7 separate regions of the Homo sapiens genome follow, and all the other regions are linked to region 3. The links are contacts of gene promoters, found by promoter capture Hi-C in blood cells and fetal thymus (Javierre and others, 2016). All regions are on one chromosome and are shown on one strand. Each heading gives the region's core, a stretch centred on a gene start or on the middle of the fragment in contact. The rest is flanking DNA. Distances are from core to core; before and after follow the strand shown.

Evidence for each region. The method cuts DNA at HindIII sites, captures the fragments that hold promoters and counts their contacts. A CHiCAGO score of 5 or more calls a contact.
Region 1: a fragment that was not itself captured here is called in contact with the fragment with the promoter of PHIP in region 3 in 3 of 17 cell types (M0 macrophages, monocytes and naive CD8 T cells); the score reaches 7.6 in M0 macrophages.
Region 2: a contact is called between a fragment that was not itself captured here and the fragment with the promoter of PHIP in region 3, in 1 of 17 cell types (total CD8 T cells). The highest score is 5.6, in total CD8 T cells.
Region 4: a contact is called between a fragment that was not itself captured here and the fragment with the promoter of PHIP in region 3, in 1 of 17 cell types (M1 macrophages). The highest score is 5.4, in M1 macrophages.
Region 5: a fragment that was not itself captured here is called in contact with the fragment with the promoter of PHIP in region 3 in 1 of 17 cell types (naive CD8 T cells); the score reaches 5.2 in naive CD8 T cells.
Region 6: a fragment that was not itself captured here is called in contact with the fragment with the promoter of PHIP in region 3 in 1 of 17 cell types (fetal thymus); the score reaches 5.1 in fetal thymus.
Region 7: a contact is called between a fragment that was not itself captured here and the fragment with the promoter of PHIP in region 3, in 3 of 17 cell types (naive CD8 T cells, megakaryocytes and total CD4 T cells). The highest score is 7.0, in naive CD8 T cells.

Annotation. Positions count from the first base shown.
Region 1 is chr6:79,868,152-79,871,083 of GRCh38, reverse strand. It overlaps LOC107986614 (a long non-coding RNA gene), which reads left to right. Exons shown (of 3, transcript XR_001744216.3): 1 at 1-820; 2 at 2,594-2,791. Among named protein-coding and RNA genes, the nearest start is that of LINC01621, 57 kb to the right of the region's middle. RefSeq lists an enhancer at 1,111-1,220 and a silencer at 1,209-1,386. The HindIII fragment of the contact is 7,794 bases long and covers 1-2,932 here.
Region 2 is chr6:79,698,286-79,701,190 of GRCh38, reverse strand. It overlaps SH3BGRL2 (SH3 domain binding glutamate rich protein like 2), which reads right to left. Exons shown (of 4, transcript NM_031469.4): 4 at 1-1,693. The coding sequence ends at 1,682. Among named protein-coding and RNA genes, the nearest start is that of SH3BGRL2, 68 kb to the right of the region's middle. The HindIII fragment of the contact is 5,171 bases long and covers 1-2,905 here.
Region 3 is chr6:79,076,965-79,079,671 of GRCh38, reverse strand. PHIP (PHIP subunit of CUL4-Ring ligase complex) reads left to right here and starts at 1,418. Exons shown (of 40, transcript NM_017934.7): 1 at 1,418-1,643; 2 at 1,759-1,817; 3 at 1,943-1,972; 4 at 2,165-2,224. The coding sequence starts at 1,604. It overlaps LOC124901346 (a long non-coding RNA gene), which reads right to left. Exons shown (of 2, transcript XR_007059652.1): 2 at 2,406-2,707. RefSeq lists an enhancer at 991-1,040 and silencers at 1,161-1,400, 1,531-1,700, 2,200-2,699. The HindIII fragment of the contact is 4,735 bases long and covers 493-2,707 here.
Region 4 is chr6:79,809,027-79,811,726 of GRCh38, reverse strand. It overlaps LINC01621 (long intergenic non-protein coding RNA 1621), which reads left to right. Exons shown (of 5, transcript NR_131786.1): 2 at 177-200. Among named protein-coding and RNA genes, the nearest start is that of LINC01621, 1.9 kb to the left of the region's middle. The HindIII fragment of the contact is 1,008 bases long and covers 827-1,834 here.
Region 5 is chr6:79,662,831-79,665,655 of GRCh38, reverse strand. All of the region lies in intron 1 of SH3BGRL2 (SH3 domain binding glutamate rich protein like 2), which reads right to left. Among named protein-coding and RNA genes, the nearest start is that of SH3BGRL2, 33 kb to the right of the region's middle. RefSeq lists an enhancer at 1,695-2,307. The HindIII fragment of the contact is 2,694 bases long and covers 15-2,708 here.
Region 6 is chr6:80,026,781-80,029,588 of GRCh38, reverse strand. It overlaps TTK (TTK protein kinase), which reads right to left. Exons shown (of 22, transcript NM_003318.5): 13 at 1,578-1,704. Among named protein-coding and RNA genes, the nearest start is that of TTK, 24 kb to the right of the region's middle. The HindIII fragment of the contact is 179 bases long and covers 1,391-1,569 here.
Region 7 is chr6:79,714,643-79,717,549 of GRCh38, reverse strand. No RefSeq gene overlaps it. Among named protein-coding and RNA genes, the nearest start is that of SH3BGRL2, 85 kb to the right of the region's middle. The HindIII fragment of the contact is 6,207 bases long and covers 1-2,907 here.

The DNA.
Region 1 (2,932 bases), core at 76-2,575, 790 kb before region 3:
ACAGGGTTACAGTGAAGATTAAATTAGATAACAAGATATAGAGCCTGGAACATATTATCTTATGTAATTATTATTGCCTTCCTTATGTGTTATTTTTAAAAGTGTGAGTACCTAATGTCTCAATTTCCTGAGCAAATACCTGCCACCCGACTTTGTGAAATTACAGATAAGGGCTAACATGGTTACAGGATCCAGTGTATTTGCGTAGCAAGGCTAAGGGACAATCTATTTAAAAGGGGGCAACTTCCAGGGGCTTTGTCTTGAAACTGTAAAGCAAGACATTTGCTTTTGCTTAGATTCTGTGATCTTTGTTTGCGTGGCTTGAAAGAGACTAAAAGCTACCCTTCTCCCTAATCACCCCTTAATACTGCCATTGGTGGTAGGGGCCCCTATCACCAGAATTCTGTCATTAATATCTCTACCTTGCCTTGACTCCACTAAAGCCAATGAGTGTGGACATGGTTGTGATAGATACTCCTATTCATTCATTCAACAAGCAATCATGGAACACCTACGTTGCAGAAACTGTCCTTTAAGGAACTCAGATGGAACCTGCGAGTCATCTCTGGATTCTAGAACCCATGTTCTGGCTCCATGCCACTGCTGTAGACACTATCCTGTGTCATTAAACACTAAAAGCAGTGTTTTGTAAAGCAATCTCAGGTGTATCAATCCCTCATCGGCTGGCGCAGACCTCCAGCCATCCATTTCCTAAGTTTAACAGAGGAACTAAAATTCCAAGACCCAATTCCACAGTCGTTGATGAGCATAAGCACTTCAGCCATCATCTCCTCTGCGATGAAGTGGTCATTCTCTGAGGGTAGGAATAGGTTTCTTCTTTGTTTTTAATTCCAAGCCTGTAGTGTATTTCAATGTCAATTCATTTAAACTTATTTACTAGCTATCAGGCACAGGCACATCACAGAAGACAGATAAGCATCTCCACCTTCCAAAACTTGCTGTCTACATGAGTACTCTTTGACAAATTATTTGGGGTGAGTGGGGTTTCTTTAGCATGAAAATGACAACATCTATCAGTGTTTAGTGGTGAGTACAGCCCAGGGTTAGACATCAACTGTCAGCTTAGGCTGTTGTACAGAGGCATTTTTTTCCATTGTATTTTTAAGTGAAACAAGGGAAACTCCATTTCCGCTATTGGGAGTAAGGCCACTTTCTTGTGCAGGCCCCCACCGCAGCCCCTCCAGGAGAAAGTAGGTGAGCTCTCTCGGACGTGGCCTTTCCGGGGTTGGAGCCGGCAGCACCGCCCAGCAGGGCTTCCGCTCGGCGTGTGTGATGTCCTTGGCGGCCGCTAGAGGGAGGTGAGAGCCTGAGGCAGCAGCGCGAGGAGCCGCACCGCCCAGGCCACCTGGGCTCCAAGGCCCAGGACCTCGCGCCCTGGCTCAGCAGTCACTCAGCTAGATTTCGAATGCCCTGGAAAACAGCGTGAAAACAGAGTTCAATCAAAGATAGGGTTGCCAGGTAAAGTACGACAGCCCAGTTAAATCTGAATTTCAGATAAACAACAAATACAAATACTTTTTAAAAAATCGTTATCTGAAATTCATATTAAAATAAAATCCAGACTGGGTGCCCTGGACTTTTATTGACTAAATCTGGCAACTCTAACCAAAGAGCAAAGGGCCCTTGGAAAGACTGAAAGCCCTTTTAAGGTACAGAGGAGGGAAAGACAATATTTACTACCTGTTAACTGAATATTGGACAAAGTATTGCATCCCGTAGACTGGAAGAGGCTGTTCTTGTCACAGTTGGCAGAGACGCAGCCCTGCAGCCTGTGGCCTTGTCTAGGACAGACGTGAGGAAAGGTCCTCCCCACCTTAGAAAATTTCCTCCTTTATCTTCTCCAAGGCCGAATGCGTTGCTAAAGTCCTCTCTGTGTTCATTCAGGAATTTCTCCTAAAGATGCAATTATCAGAAGAACACAAACAAAGCAAAGAACACGAGCAAAATGCAAGCAAACACACACACACAAACACACAAAGAAAAATACACAGAAAAAGAAAAACACAAGTAAAGAACAGAAAAAAAAAAAAAAAAAAAGTCCGTTGACTTTTCCAGAGAGATTACTTGGCAGCTTGTTGGAAATAAGTACCAGCCTAGGAAAAACACATTAAAAGCCCAGGTGGAGAGGCAATAAAAAAGAAGGGAACAAAGCATCAAGATAAAAATGAGGGCCACAGAAAGAGTCTGCCGTTACTAATGCTACATCCCTGGTTAACAACAATATTGTCCAGGGCTGGAGCCTTTCAGAGGGTAGCTCACACCAAGTTAACAGAATGACATCTGAGCACCTGGAATGCCCCATCGTGATTGCTATTCATTGGTGGTAATAGTTTTCGCAGACTGAATAAACTCCATCAGTGAACGGAGCTCTACTGTCTTTTGGTCCTGAAGTGGAGATTAATTACAAGGGGCGTGTGCTCACCCGCAACCAGCTCCTCTCTCTTCACTGCTTGCTCGCTTTCCTTATTCAGAGTCACCAAAGGTACGGGGAATACTGAGAAGGTTCTTAGAACAAATATCTCCAGAAAGCTCATAAAAGGAGTCATTCCTCCTTTGCTTCCTTTTTCCCAAGGTCACGATCAAGCAAAAACTTCCTATTTGCAAGGAGAGGCTGCCTTAGCCTCGAGAGGAGGACATGTAAATTACTGACCTTGAAGACACTGCACTACCCTGCGGCACTGCAGACCTTTAAAAAAAAAAAACAACCCAAAAGACCAATGACGCTAATATCAAGTTAAATCAGCAGGGGGCACAATTTCTCCACAATGTGGTAAGCTGCTTTTTCTGATTAGAAGGAAAAATGCCTAAGCTGTTTCTTTGTGCTGTTTTGAATCGGCGTTACCTGATAATCCAAACATTAAAATGTCGTGCACAAATTCATTTTCCACAGAAACAGGCAACATAAGCCATC
Region 2 (2,905 bases), core at 232-2,731, 620 kb before region 3:
ACCAGTAATATCCATAATTTGACAACAGCTTCCCTTGAAGAGAAAATTGTGGATCATGTGTCCATTCTAGTTAAGTAGAAATCTGTCATACTTTCCTTCTGGTTGTAATCCTGGACTACAAATCTCAGGTTGGGATTTCAGCCTTAGCATTCAACAAGTTCTTTAGTCTACATTTAGCAAGGCATGGGGCGGAGTGCTGGGCACATGTGACAGGGCTGTAATTCTTCTGCTCTTTCAATTTCTTATAAATTTCCTGCTCAGAATTATAATGAAAAGTCCAGAATCAGGATGCTAGAAATAAAATATTTTAGGCAGCCCTCTGAAAATTTATCCTATTCAAGGCTGTTCCCATGTTTGGCAATTTAAAACTCTAAGTTAAAAAAAAAATTAAGCATCCCTGTTATAGGGACAAGAATGCAGAAAAATAGCCTCTGCTCTAATGAAGTAGATATGTTCGATGTTCATCAGCATCCACTCCAATAGGAGTATAGATTTTGCTTGACAAGTACAATTCCGGGTTACTCTCTTTCTCATGTGTGTTGCTCTGAAACCTTACTTGTGCTCATATACGGAATGAGAACAAGTATCTGTATTACTCTGAAAAATATGAGGCTGTACATTGGCCAGAAATATGAGCAAGCAAAATTAGAGGCAAATGAAAAGTAACAAAAGGAAAAATTAAATTTTACTACAACATTGGTATATTTTAATATGTCTAATCAAGGGTTCACAAAATATATCTAACTGAGATTTTCCTTTCTCAAAAAATATAGTCCCTTCACAAAATAGAAGCAGCAGCTGTCTGTTAGGGGAGCTGGATTAAAAAATATATGAACTTATATATTATAAATAAATTGCTAGAGCTGAAAATGCCTTCAGATACTCGTCAGATAATTTTCCTATATATTCACTAATTAGTGCACCACTTAAAATATATCTTTCAAGCAGTCTCAGGCATTTGGGTGAAACTTGCCCCTTGCAAGAAATAAAGAAGCATATATTTCAAATAGCAATTATTGTCATCCCAGTAACTTAGTTCTGATCACTTGATGTTACAACAGGGATTTCTGGAAACATCTGTAGGATAATATGTGGAGGTAAGAGTTTCCATTACTAAAACAAGTCTAGAATATCTAACTTTTTCACCAGGTGTTATTACAAAGCATGGGAACTGTGATGTTTGTAACTGATTCTGCAGCAAAAATCTTCAACACCCTTTGTCAACCAGCGCTGCTTTTTTTCCTTCTGATTCAAAGATTCTAACAACTTGGCAGACATATTTCAAAGGTGCAATCCAGGCAGCTTAAAGAGAAGTGGGTTTACGCAATTCCGGCATCTACTATAACCTAGGGCAGATCCAACATTTTCTCTCTGACGGTGCTACCCACTTATCTTTCAGTCATTAAGAAAGTACACCTGTAACAGGTGACGGTATTTCCAGGTGAGTGAGGCAACTGCAGGCAAATAGAATAAGAAAAAAAAAATCCACCACCTGATTTGGTTTAAAGCAATCATGCAATTCTCATTATAGCCACATCTTTCAAAAACACCTTTTCCGTGGCAAGCAAAGTTACTGATAATGCGTGTGGCTTTTGTCACAGTGATGCATTAGGTAAGCATGTGTGTGCTGAGTACCAGGGGTGCTTCAAAATGCATCTCCGTCATCTTCCACTCTTCTTCTCTAAGGTTCTGCCTATAAAAAAAAAAAAAAAAAAAAAAAAAAAAAAGTCAGTTATTGCATTACATCGACAAGAAAATTCACCCTTGGCAGGGGTTTTTTAAATGTCAGGAACAGAGATGTTGGAAATCATAACAGATCACCTCCATGTGATTGATAAGAGAAAATCCTGGGTTTCAGCATCAGAGCCCAGATTTAAATCACACCCACCCGACCTGCCAAATATAAAAGTGGAAAGAAAGCCGCATGTTTTCAATGACCTACTGAGATTCCTCTCAGAGGTACTGTTCCACTTGTGTATGGCTGGGTGGGGGGTTACCTTGCTCAGAGGGCCTGCAGAGATGCCCATTAATAGCAACCCAAGATGAAGAACCACTCTAGAACGACCATATCTGTTAGTAAAGAGTCGCTGCCCCAGTCCCCCAACTGCCACCCCTGCGCACCCTCCCCCTTGAGCCAATGGATAAAGAGCTGACATCTGGCACAGGGGGCCTCTGTGGCCTGCTCAAGCTCTGGCCAGTCAGCACCCAGTGTTGACCGGTTGTTACCTACTTTGGATATTACCCCTGAAAGCTAGGGATCTGAAAGTACAATCTTCTATGACAGGCCCTTCTTGGGGTCTACTAAATTTTAACTTTGATGGTTTTCTACCTAAAAAGTATCGGTGAAATGGCCTCCCTTTCTCAGAATTAGTTGGCTATCACAATGGGCCAGCCACTGTGGGCTCCAGCCAACTACAAGGGAAACTGAGATCCCCCCACCACCCCCACCAGGGATTCCATACCATCTAATATTTACATACTTTAAAAAACCTCTTCACAGGACAAACAACATATCCAGGGCCAATGTGGCCTGCAGGCCACCATCTAGAGACCTCTAACCTACCTTTGCCCCTCCCACTATGGAGGGCAGCCCAGTCAGAGCCTACACTGCACCTGGGCCTGTTGGGCCCATGAATGTCCTCTCCTACCAAGTAAGAGCAATTATAGGTGCTAATGATGTCTTTATGTTTCCTGATAGGCTTTGTTGCCATGTTTTTTATGTGTGTATACTACACAGGGAGTAGGAAAGGAAAAGAGAAAACAGGGCTTTCATCTTTTAGTACATTAAACCTGTGAACACTCTGTCAAAGCCTTAGACTATAGACTGTATGATGAATCACTACCAAGGTAAAAAATAGAAGATTAGAAGAGAGAAAATGCTAAATTGTTCTTGAAGACATTTTCA
Region 3 (2,707 bases), core at 169-2,668:
GCTTAAATCATCTGGAGATAAATATCATTTGGTGTCCTTGTTTTCTAACAAATGGCTTTTTCTATTGTTTCCATTAATTTCACCCATATTCGTTTTTTTAAAAACAAGGCCCTTATCCTCATCAGCAAAACACAGATGTATGATTTAGCATATAAAATCGGTAATTACATACTAATTTACGAAAGATTTTTTTTTCTCCTTTTCGTCAGTTTTCAAGAAGTCTTCCCGTGATTAACTGTAAACAGGAATGGTTTACATCTCAAATTAGAAGCCATTAATTAGCATGACGAAGTCAACTGCAAGATACACAGATTATTTAAATTATTTAATCACTATTCACCTTGGCTAAACTGTAGTATACTCTTTCAATATCCTTAGGCAGGTTATCGATCTGTCACTAAATTACCTCCAGATCAGTTAGACATGAATATTAGCGTCCTTTCCTTTCCCTCAGGTTTACATTCTCCCTTCTCGTAAACACTTAAAAAAGCTTTAAGGTTCTTTAATTCCAAATACCTAATTAGCCATCACTAGCCTTTTTGTAATAAGGAAAAAGAGTATCTGAAGTACAAATCAAGAGTTCGCTTTGCCCGTTTAACAATAAAAAACATTTAAAAAACGTACGCCAAAGGCAATGGCAGTAATAAAAGAAATATGCAGAGGTGGCTTCAGCAAATAACGGGTTTGCAAAACGCAAGTGCTTAACAAAAAGCAGCCCAAACCTCTATTGCAATATACAGCACTCCAATAAATTACACAACACTTGCATAGGCTGCAGAAATAACGCAGGACAAGACTTACACAGATGCCAATCCGCAGCATTTATACACATGCACATGGCAAGAGACAGAAACCAAACACTATCATTCAACTCGGGAAGGGTAGCGCGATCCCGAGCTTGCCCAGCGTGAGAGTGCTCTCTGCGTGTGTGTCTGTGTACGCGCGTGAGTGAGACCCATCCTTGGGGCATTTCCCCTCTCTGGGCAGTTTTGCTTCATTTGTTTCATATTTCTGCTACATAGAAACTAACTTCCATCTCAGCTCCAGCCAGCGCCGCTGAATAGAGCCTGTGCTGCGGCTCCGTGTGCGTCAGATCCCTCCGCGGAACCGTCCCCGGCCCCCTCCCTGCCACTATCGGCCTCCACAGAGAAAGCGCCTTCCAGCCAACCGGCGGCTTGGGCTCCGACATCTTCTCCGACTGGAAATAAATAAATAAATCGCACGCCCTGCGGGGAGGAGCGGGTGGGGGTCTCACTGTGCCGCGTGCGGAGCGCTGGGGACGAGGGGTCGGAGGCACTCCTTTTTTAGCGCCGGGGGGCGGGGGCGCGGGCCAGAGCCGGGGCCGAGCCCTGGGCCGCGAAGGCGGCGGACTCCTTTCTGCGGCGGAGGGATCCGCGGCGGAGGCGGCCACGGCCGTAGTCGCTGCCTGAGAGTTGTTGTTTCCTCCTCCTCCTCCTCCGCCTCCGCCGCCGTTGCTTGAATGGTGGAGCCGAAGCTCGGCTCGTGAACACACACTGACAGCTATAGGGCAGGCGGCGGCACCGTCCCCGCTTCCCCTCGGCGGCGGGGTGTCCCGTCGGCGGCCCTGAAGTGACCCATAAACATGTCTTGTGAGAGGAAAGGCCTCTCGGAGCTGCGATCGGGTAAGTCGGGGGGCTGCCGGGGCCGCTGGCACCGGGCGATTCCGCCCGCGGTCCCCCGCCCCCCGCCGCCCGACCGCTCAGCCTGTGTGTCTCCCCGTCCCTCTCTCCCGCGCAGAGCTCTACTTCCTCATCGCCCGGTTCCTGGAAGATGGACCCTGTCAGCAGGCGGCTCAGGTACGGCGGCGCGCGGCGCGGGCCGGGCCGGCGCTCGCCGCTCGCGGGCGTGGGGGAGGGAGGCGGCGGCGGCGGGGCCGCGGCCCGGGGCGCGGGGCTCAGCTCTCCCCGCTTTGTTGTTGCAGGTGCTGATCCGCGAGGTGGCCGAGAAGGAGGTAAGGGCGGCGGCGGCCCGGCGCGTCCCGCCGCCGCGCGGCCGCCTCTGGGCCGCTGCGCCGCCGCTGCCGCCGCCGGCAGGGCGCGGGGCGCGGGGCTCGGGGTCCCCGCCGGGGCGCGGGGCGGGCGGGGGAGGGGAGCGGGCGGGTAGGGGCCGGGGGCCGGGCTCACGGGGTGTCCTCTCCCCGCAGCTGCTGCCCCGGCGCACCGACTGGACCGGGAAGGAGCATCCCAGGACCTACCAGAATCTGGTGAGACATTCACGTCGCAGAGCAAAGAAACTTTTCCCTGAGTCGAATAAAAATTGAATTTCCCGCAATTTTTTACAGAGACAAAAACTTGGCCCTAGAACGTGAAAGCTCCAAAGGCCATGGGGAGGGTTGGGAGGCCGGCGCGGGGTCTGCGGGGGCCAGTGGCCGGGGGTACTCGTACTTCGGGGCCGCAGGGGCTGCGGACAATTTATTTGTGATATTTTGTTAATGTGCTAGAAATAAAGATACGTCATGAGTGTTGTGCAGTGCAAGGCCGGAGGAGGAGGGGCCGGCGCGCGCGTCCGTGCGGGCGCGGGGGCGCGCGAGAGTCGGCGGCGGCGGGAGCGGCGCGAAGAGGGAGAGCGCGCTCGCTCGTTCGCTTGCTCGCTCTGCACGCGCGGCCGGCTCGGCTTTCTCCTGCCCTACACAATAGCTGGTGACTAACTGCTCCGAAGTGGCATTAGCATTTCACAAGCAGGCTAT
Region 4 (2,700 bases), core at 81-2,580, 730 kb before region 3:
CCTGCATAATCTGACATCATATGAATATATCACACTTAAGGCATTTTCTCATTGACTTCTACGTGGTTTCTACTTTTCATTGCTATAACAAATATCCTAATACGTTTCTCCTGCACTTGTGGGTTTTTTTGAATTAGATACCTGAAATTTTGACTTGATTTTTTTTTTTCTTACAGAAATTCTGTCAATGGGACATGCATGTGAGTTTAGAAGCAATTCTTTCTTTAATATGCAGAGGCTTCTGGGAGTGCTCAGGCCATCAACCAAAGGTGTTCATTAGCCCATACAAGCTGCTTTCCTCAATTTCTAGATGAGATGTACTGTTATGAGAAAATGGAAGAAAAATTACAGGAGAACAAATAGGGAATTGCTAAGATATGTACATCTGTAGTGAGGAGAGGAGTTGGGGGCTTGGGGGCAGGGGTGAAATGCCTAGCGACTTAAATGACATAAGGCACTGATTTCTTGAGTGTTGAGTAAAGGGATGTTAGAAGATAGAAAATTGCCAAGGATTAGTTTGTAACTCAAAATTATAGCTCAGTCCAATCCCATTTCCCACTAAGAGGGGGAAACATCTTTGTCTCCCTCTTCTTTCCCCTCTCCCACAGGAGTAGCTGACTCCTCCCTGTTCCAGGACCCAGGGCTCAGGCTGACTTGTGTTAAGCTTCCATCTGGGTTAAACAGATTTCAGGAAGATCACGTGGAAAATTAAATGCCACCGCAGCATTGTTTCTATAGGAAATGAGTTTCTCTTTGCAAACAATTATTTGCTTTCGGTACACAACCACTTATCATAAGGAGGGAGCCTGTCTGTGCTTATAAAGCTTAAATTTGAAGGACTCCAGTTATCTTAATTTAAAATTAAAATAGCCTAATTTGAGAAGAAACCATGTTCTTAAATTTCCAATAGATGTTCCAATATGTATTTACTGCAATTTCTATGTTGGGGTGGTTTGTTGTCATTTTAAAAGTGAGGCTGGAACACTATAATATGTCCTGTCTTCTTTTTGCCTGTTAAACAAGGCGAGCTAGGGCAGCTTCTCAAAAGGCTCAAGAGGCACAGTCAGTGATCTCAGGCCACCCTGGATGGCGGGAGGCCACGAGAGGGGGCTTGCACCACCAGCTGCAGGGAATTGTTAAATTCCTGACCTAGTTTTTGAAACTATTCAAGGAGAAAGCAGGGACACAAATACTAGCTCTAGCCTCGTTCAATGAGACCACGTTCCTGTTTTCATTTCACTTTAGCCGCATTTGTTCGAGCAGCAGGTGAAGCGCCTTTCAAAAGACTGTCATCTCCAAGGGAAGTCATCTGTTTTACATTAATTGTCCATTAGTCTCCAAGCCTCGATCCATTAAAGTCCTCAGCCACTCATTACGTATATTGTGCAGGAGTCCTGCTGTCAGCTTTTCAATGCAGAGCTGTTTTTCTGCATCTGACTTAATTGCTCTAAGTGCCTGTTCCTTTGAGAGAGCCTAGAGTGTACCAATTAATGCTAACTTTTTCCTTGCTAGGTTGAACACATAAGCCATGGTGAGGCCAGTTCAGCTGCTATTTACTCGAATTTATTAGAGACCCTTCTGCCTTAAGCTCACACAGTGGGTAGTTTACATCAGTACTGCCCTGTTTGCCTGATGACTCCTGGATATGTTTTGAATGGACTTAATTTTCTATAGTGAAAATGCTCCATAAATTTACAATCTATCCATGTTATTTTGAAGAGGGGTTTAAATTCCATTTGCTCCTGATTAGTTTAAACATGTAATTTTTAAATGCATGTGGCATTCTAAACAACAGCTTGGATGAAATTGACTTTGTTGATGGAAAAATTAAGCTTTCATCCTTTCAAATGACAGCTCGAGGGGTGGCCGTACAATAATTTAATTACCGTAGCTTCCTTAATTACAGCCGACTCACCTACCTTTAGCTCCATTACCGTTTTCCTTAATAAACACGAATAAATGGACGAAAAACAAAAATTAAGAAAACCAATCTTAGAGTAGCTTTTATAAAATTTTGATAGGCATAGAGGCAAATACAAATATGTGAGACTCAGAGAAACATATTAACCCCTTCAACTCTAAAAGAACTAGAAAAACCACAATTTTGTTTTTTTCTTTTTAAAATTGTACCATAGTCCCACTTATTAATACTAAATTTTATATTTTATTAATATTCAAAATATCCAATCAATATAAATTCCTGTCAAGATGGTAATATATCTATAAATTCAGATTCTGAGTAATGACCTGATATTAATTGAATTTATTGCAGGTTTTTAAATCTTTACTACAGTTTAATTCCATCCTATAACTAAGTTTGTTAACAAATGGCCCTGTTAATATATAATTAAGTACCTGTGTATTGATTTGCTTAATTACATCTAAACAATACCAAAAAATAAAAACCACACAGATGCACCCAGACTGATTTAAATTGCAGGATATCATGAAAATTAAAGACAGACTTCTGTGTCTTATTTCCTGAGGATTGTTGGGGAAATATGCACTTTTGGCATAAGCAAACTACTTAGAACAAAAATAGCAACCATTCTGGGAAACATTTACATTAGGTGAAATCTGTCTCTGAGGCTGTCTGCCTTCCACCCAAGAGCTCCCTGACATGGCAGCGTCCCCTCTCCTCTCTATTCTCTCACCTTCCTCAGCTGGAGGCCAGTCGTGTATCTCATGTCACATGGCCCT
Region 5 (2,825 bases), core at 112-2,611, 590 kb before region 3:
AATATTATTAAGCTTGAATTCATACTTTTAACTTTGGTTTTCTTTTTAACCAGTCAATATTTTTGGTCCTGTTTTCTTGATCAATTTGCATTGGTTTCTTTTTTACATGTTTATAATATGGTAAATCATCTTTCCCATTTGAAATTTTTTAATTTTAAAAAACCCATAATCTCATCACGCTGAGGCTTTTATTTTTCATAGAACCTTCCAGGGAGCCCACATTTAGAAGTAGACTTTATATAGTTGCCATAATAACAAATGTTTTGGGGAAGGATGTTTCTGTTGTATTACGAATATTTTTTGTTTCTAAAATCTCCATAGCTATCTTATTGCATGTATGAATTATATTGAGTACTTATGCTAATGTATTTAAACATTATTCTAACATTGGAGATTTAGGTGTGTTGTAAAGATGGTGTTTCAAATTTGCTGAATTTTTATTTTTTTATTTATTTAGAGACGGAGTCTCGCTCTGTTGCCCAGGCTGGAGTGCAGTGGCTCGATCTCAGCTCACTGCAAACTCCTCCTCCTGGGTTCAAGCGATTTTCCTGTCTCAACCTCCTGAGTAGCTGGGACTACAGGCGCCCGCCACGACGCCTTGCTAATTTTCGTATTTTTAGTAGAGACGAGGTTTCACCATGTTGGTCAGGCTGGTCTCAAACTCCTGACCTCATGATCTGCCCTCCTCAGCCTCCCAAAGTGCTGGGATTACAGACGTGAGCCACCATGCCTGGGCAACTTTTTCAATGATAACAAATGGTTATTAGTAGTAGGCTACCTAGCAGTACTAAAACACAGGGACTTTACACAGATTTTTCTAAATCTTGTCTCCTAAAGTCTTTCAAATGAAATATTTCAGTGAATTGTTTTAATGTAACATCTTTCCGTCTTTCCATTGGTTTCCTGGAATAGCTAATTGACATCATGGAACATAACATGATTTCAACTATCAAACTGTTAACAAAAACCTTTATATGACTGATGAATGGGAAGTAGTTCTGGCTGCTGCAAGTGGGACACTGAGGTCTGTGTGGGACACTGGTTGGTCTGTGAACATGTGGCTTTGCTGGACTGAACACAGTGACAGTGACACCAAAGGCAGCAGCCTGAACCTCAATTGGGCCAGTTGGCTTTATTAATGTTCTAGTCCTGAACAGTCAAAAAGGGTTGGGTCTGTGTCACCTTGGCCAAGATACTTATTCTACCAAAGCCTTGGTTTCCTCATCTGTAAAACACAGATAATAATTCAGCATAGAGAACTGCAGTGAAATTTAAATGTCATAATGTTCATAAAGTTCTTAGTGCAGTGCCTGGCATGCAAAAAGAGCTAAACATTAAATCCAATCACAAGTCCGTTCCAAGGTGGGTGAATAGGAACAGCTCCAGTCTGCAGATCCCAGCGTGATCGATGCAGAAGACAGGTGATTTCTGCATTTCCAACTGAGGTACCTGGTTCATCTCATTCGGACTGGTTGGACAGTGGGTGCAGCCCACGGAGGGCGAGCTGAAGCAGGGTGGGACGTCACCTCACCTGGGAAGGACAGGGGTTGGGGGATTTCCCTTTCCTATCCAAGGGAAGACATGACAGACTGTACCTGGAAAAACAGGACACTCCCACTCAAATACTGTGCTCTTCCTAGGTCTTAGCAACTGACAGACTAGGAGATTCTCTCCCATGCCTGGCTTGGCAGGCCCCACGCCCTGGTAGTCTTGCTCCCTGCTAGCCCAGCAGTCTGACATCAACCTGCGAGGCAGCAGCCTGGCTGGGGGAGGGGCGGCCGCCACTGGGGAGGCTTGAGTAGGTAAACAAAGCCACCAGGAAGCTCAAACTGGGTGGAGCCCACCACAGCTCAGCAGGGCCTACAGCCTCTATAGACTCCACCTCTGTGAGCAGGGCATAGCTGAACAAAAGGCAGCAGAAACTTCTGCAGACTTAAACGTCCCTGTCTGACAGCTCTGAAGAGAGCAGTGGTTCTCTAAGCACGATGTTTGAGCTCTGAGAACGGACAGACTGCCTCCTCAAGTGGGTCCCTGATCCCTGTGTAGCCTAACTGGGAGACACCTCCCAGTAGGGGCCGACTGACACCTCATACAGGCGGGTGCCCCTCTGGGACGACGCTTCCAGAGGAAGGATCAGGGAGTAACATTTGCTGTTCTGCAATATTTGCTGTTCTGCAGCCTCTGCTGGTGATACCCAGGCAAACAGGTCTGGAGTGGACCTCCAGCAAACTCCAACAGACCTGCAGCTGAGGAAACTGACTGTCAGAAGGAAAACCAACAAACAGAAAGAAGTAACATCAACATCAACAAAAAGGACATCCACACAAAAACACCATTTGTAGGTCACCAACATCAAAGACCAAAGGTAGATAGAACCACAAAGATGGGGAGAAACCAGAGCAGAAAAGCTGAAAATTCTAAAAACCAGAGCACCTCTTCTCCAAAGGATGGCAGTCCCTCGCCAGCAATGGAACAAAGCTGGACAAAGAATGACTTTGACGAGTAGACAGAAGTAGGCTTCAGAATGTCGGTAATAACAAACTTCTCTGAGCTGAAGAAGCATCTTCTAACCCTTCGCAAGGAAGCTAAAAACCTTGAAAAAAGGTTAGACAAATGGCTAACTAGAATAAGCAGTGTAGAGAAGACCTTAAATGACCTGCTGGAGCTGAAAACCATGGCACGAGAACTTCGTAGCACATGCATAAGCTTCAACAGCCGATTTGATCAAGTGGAAGAAAGGATATCAGTGATTGAAGATAAAATTAACAAAATAAAGTAAGAAGACAAGTTTAGACAAAAAAGAGTAGAAAGAAATGAACAAAGCC
Region 6 (2,808 bases), core at 231-2,730, 950 kb before region 3:
CTTCTAGAAGGCTCCACCAAGCCCCTTCACTTGTCATCTGTGACTCGTCTTCTGGATTGCAACTCAAACAGGGCCTGACACTAGTAATAGCTAAATAAATGTGTTTTGAATCAATGCATGAACAAACTGGATCATTTTTGTTTTTCCTTTGTAATTTATTATATTGTTTCAATCCTTAAAACACTATCACCTCTTTCCAGTTAGTATCTACTGTCAGCTCATTATTTTGTCCATTATTCTTTCAAACTGTGCAAATTATACATAATGCAAAATTTACCACTTTAACCATTTTTAGGTACAATTCAGTGGCATTAAGTACATTCAGTATGTGATGATGAAAAAGTTCTGGTGATGGATGGTGGTGCAAATACCACTGAAACTCTATACCCATTAAACAGTAACTCCCCATTCTTCCTCCCTTCCCTGACAACCACTGTTCTTATTCTGTCAGCTAATTTTTTTATCAGTTGATTTTTATAGTTAATTACTCATGGGTTTTTTATTGTTTTATTTAAATAACAATTGCTACTAACATTTCTGATTTACTAAGTGTCATGCTCTGTATTAGGAGTTACGTCTATATTAACTAATTTAATCTTCACAACCATCCTAGGAGGTAGTTAGCTTTACTAATTTTATAGATAATGAAATGGGCACCGAAAATTTAGGTAACTTGCAAAAGATCACACAGACTGTAAGTAGTGAGGCTAAGATTCATGCCCAGTGTCTCCAAGGCCCATGTTTTCTACCAGTATTAAGCTGCCTCTAGGACAGTTACTAGAAACCAACTTTTGCCTCATCAGCAAAAAATCTTTCCTCTTAGTTTAGTTATTAGTATAATACATTCTAGCAGTACCTCATATTGCTATTCTGATATTTTTGAAAATTTACATTTCCAAATGAATTGTATACTAACAAACAAAATGAAGCTGCTCACTAGCAGCTGACAAAACACAACAAAAAGTAACGCTGGCCAGGCGCAGTGGCTCATGCCTGTAACCCCAGAACTTTGGGGGGCTGAGGCGGGCGGATGGTTTGAGGCCAGGAGTTTGAGACCAGCCTGAGCAACATGGTGAAACCCTGTCTCTAGTAAAAATACAAAAATTAGCCAGGTGTGGTGGTGCGTGCCTGTAATCTCAGCTACTCGGGAGGCTAAGGCACGAGAATCGCTTGAACCTGGGAAGCAGAGGTTGTAGTCACCCGAGATCGCGCCACTGCACTCCAGCTTGGGCAATAGAGCGAGACTCTGTCTCAAAAAATAAATAAATAAATAAATAAATAAATAAATAAAAATAAAAAATAAAAGGTAACCTTGATTCATAAGAGAAATTTTATCCAGCTATTCAAACTGGATCCTTTGGCCTAGTTATTAAGAGTAGCTTCGTAAGCTTCTTCAATAACCAACCTCTCAAAGCCACAAGGCACACTCTTATTAGAATATCAGAAAAGTTTTGTCTAGTGGAAATAAGAATGGCCAAGTTCTTAAGACCTTTCTTGATAACTAGATGCTATAAAAATAAAAGCTGTAAAACGGACTGTATCTTAACATATACCATCATATATAAAGCTTATCGAACCTGTAAATTTTGAAGTGGAGTGGCAAGTATTTGATGCTGTTGCTGCTGGAAACAGGCAGGTTGGCCATAAGGTGTTGACAACTGACAAGCAGGTGGAAAGTCATTCTTTACAACTGGAGTTCTAAAACTAGGAAATATATATATATTTTTATTTAAAACATTACAATTTAACAAATAAGTCTGATTCAGTTTCATGTATTTTAGACTGATATAAACTTAAAAGTGTTACATCAAACAGAACCCAAGTTAGTTTTCATGATATAGCTGACACTTATTCCAGATATGCCACCACCGGATATTTAATTTTGGGGAATTCTTTCTGAAAGTAAATATTTGTATGCAGACAAGAAATCTTTGTTTGAAAAGATGGCATTTAAAATACAAAGTGGTTAGGGTTATTTTATATGAATTTAGCAAACATCAGCTTGTGGCCGGCCATAGATTTTGAGTTTTTTTTTAAACAATAATGTTCTATAATGGCTTGCTAGAAATATCAGAAAGCCAATTACATCACAGGAGTTTGGCCTTTGAGCTTAAATCTGTCCAGTATACATTTGTGCTTTGTTTGCCTTTTTGCTATTAATATATCCTCAACACCTAGAACAATGCTTGGCACAAAAGAGCTCCACAAATATTTGTTAACAATAATTAACCTAGTATCACAAGAAATATCTATTATCGCTATTTTAGTTAGCAATCATTCTTTAGAATATTCTACATATAATAAAATGAGGCAATATATAGTAAAACTATATTAAGTAGGTAAGAGGCTGGGTTATAAAATCTTTAAGACCAGTTCTAATTAAGATCAAGGATTACATTATGAAAATGAAACGCAAAAGACAACACGGATTTAAGCTATCCCCTAAGACATTAAAGATATAGCCACCGGTTGATGGTTATAATGTATCGCATCCCTTTATTTCCTTTCTCTGAAATGTCATTCATTTTCTTTTGTAGTATCCCTTGTGTTCCCTATCAGCACACTCATCATCGAACTTCTTCACTTATCCATCATTCCTATTCACTCAAATACTACACCTTTGAATACCTCCAGAACTACATGAACTGTAAAAACCAATCTCTTCCAGAAGCTATCACTTTCCAATTAACACCACTTATGTGAAAAAATTCATCTACTCTTTATCTGCTCTAAGAATGCTAACCTTTAAAATCTCTCTCTTAATAGAGAGATATCTGTATGGCAATACATGATTATCAAGACGTTTTA
Region 7 (2,907 bases), core at 39-2,538, 640 kb before region 3:
CCTTATTGCTGGGCTCCCCATGTTTCAGTGGGCTTTTATAAGATTTCTGCCAAAGCATCCTCATGTTTAAGTGGCTAAACTGCTTCCATGAGAGTCCTTAAAAATAACACCTGCTACTAGAATTATACGTGTCCCAACTTACATTGCTTTTAGTAAATTTCTCTGGCTACCACTGGCCCTATTCTATTTCTATTCACTATTGCTCAATTTCAGTAATTATTTCTGAATTTTTGGTACATTAATAATTAAGGAATTCTCCCCAAACTCCCAGAATGTCAAATCTAAAGAATATGCTCTAGTGTTCATTTGACCTGACCTTTCTCTGAGACTTTCTTCCCCTTGGCTTTCCATACAATGCTTTCTACTGGTTTTCCTACTTCTTCAGATTTTACTTCCTTTTCTGTTCTTCAGAGCTTCCTGAATTGTCACAGTCACGGTGCTGTTCAGTGGTGAAATTATCCACCTGACTGTTTCACCTGTGCTTCAAACAATCTCAGGATGTCCAAAAGGAGCTTCATTAAGCTCCCTGTTTTGGGTAATTGCATCTGTCAACCAAGCTAGAACATTTGAGTCCTTTACTCTCCATTTCCCCAAGAGTTAATAAGACATCTCCATGGCCATGACCCTAGTTCAAACTCTTATCATCCATAAATTAACTTTCTAAATGGTCTCTGAGCCTTTATTCTTCCCCACATCACCTTCTCCCATACCTCATCTTCTCTTCTCACTGCCAAACTCTGTGATTTCCTGAAAACACAAATGTGATTGCTTCACATTCTTACTTTAAATCCATCAATGCTTTTCAATATCTACAGGAGTGCTTCTCACACATTAATGTGACCCTGAATCACCTGGGGATCTTGTTAAAATGTGCTTCTAGCCTGGAGTGGAGTCTAGCAAGGTTCATGTGATGCTGCTGGTCCTCGGACCACACTTTGAGTAGTGGGGGTTTATAGGTTAATTTTCAAATCTTATAGTATAGCATACCAGGCTCATTACAATCTAGTCCATTGCCCAGAATACATCTGTGATACCTCTATCATGTGTAACCTTTATTCCACCTCGATCCCTTGCATATGCTATTGCCTCTGACCAATGCTGTCTCCTCCCAGCCTTCTTCCCCAGGAAACTTCCTTCTACTGATTAATTAGTTGGTTGATCATTCATTCATTCATCCATGATTGATCTTAAGAATGACCTCCTCTAACAAGACCTTTCCGGCAGACTCTCCAAGATAGAATTAGGTAAGTGTCCTTTCACTGTTTTAGTAGCACTTTCATCCTGGACACTTTTCAATTATATCATCTGACATAGACAATAATGGAGCTGCTTACACATATATGTTCCCCACCCTTACCCTGCAGCCACTCTGTGGTTCCTTGAGGGCAAACTCTATCTTACTCTCTTTGTTTCCTGCAGGTCCAGCACAATGCCTGGCACAAAATGAGCTTTCAGATATTTATTAAACTTTGTGCTTTACTTATGAAACGCCTCTCACCAACGTTGCAGGCAAGGGGTCTGAGTAGGTCAGGAGACTGAATTAATTGACCTTCACAATTTCCTAGCCACATTTCTTATATCTTTTGTCATTCAGGAAAATAGGCACCAGCTGTAGATTTGTCCATATTAAAAAGATAAAAATCAAATAAAATTTCCCTAATAACAGAGAAATAGATGTTTTACAAGCTGTTAGTATGAAATGGTTCAATAATATCACATTTGTTTCACATTTCTTAACAATTCACCTTTGGGTCTTTATCATGGTGATCTTTTTTTCTTAATAAAAATCTCACTAAAATTTTCATGAGGCCAGTGGTGAGAGAACAGAACTATATTAAGAGCCTTATGAAAAATATATTATACATCTTTCTCTAGAAACTGTCTTTTAATAATTTCATTGGATCATCAACTGCTTATCTTCATTCTAGCTTTGTAGCTCCTTTTTCTTTTATCATTAGAAGTGGCTAATAAAAAGGTAGATTAAAATACATTTGGCTGTTTGACCAGGTTTGAACATAATTTCCAACACCATGAACACTGGGAAGCAATGTTTATGTAAGAGAAGATCAACCTCCTCTTTTTTGAGCCCAGAACAGATATTATCAGAGGAAGAACAATCTTTCTTAACACAGTTGAGCCATTAGGTACAGTTTCATCTTCTGCCACTTTCAGCAACACAATCCAATATCTTGTTAATCATGGAAACTGCTGAGCTGTTTTATACATTTCTATACTTTAGCATATGCTCTTTGCTCTGCTTAAAACTCCCTTTCCACCCATCTGTCTAACTCTTCCTGATTTGTCAGACTTAAGTCAAATATCACTTGCTTGAGGTATGTGAACTGATTGCCTCAGCTGAGCTAGCCTCTTCCTGAGTTATCTGTAGTCTTTTGCACTGCCGGAAAATCTGATTTATTTGCATGACCCCAATCCCATCCCATCAGAGGCAGAGACTTTATATCTCCTGTGCCTGGTTACGTGTAGGCTTATATAATGCTTGTGGTAAGTGGGATATAATGCCTTTGCCCTCCTTCCCTCAAGCCCACCCCCAGAGAGATCACGTCCCAATTTCTGGCACTTGTGAATGCATCGCCTTACATATGCAAAAGTGACTTTGCAGATGGAATTAAGGATCTTGAGATGGGGTGTTTATTCTAGATTATTACGTGGGTGGGCCCAGTGTAATCACAGGGGTCCCTTTAAGATGCAGGTAGGAGTGTCAGAGTCAGAGTGATGCAGCCTTGAGCCAAGGCTTATAGGCGGTCTCTAGAAGCTAGAAAAGGCAAGGAAACGGATTTTCTCCTGGAGTCAACAGAAAGGAAAGCATCCCTACAGACACTTTGATTTTAGTCTGTGAGATTCATTTTAGACTTCTGACCTCCTGAATTCCAAAACATATTTTCGTTG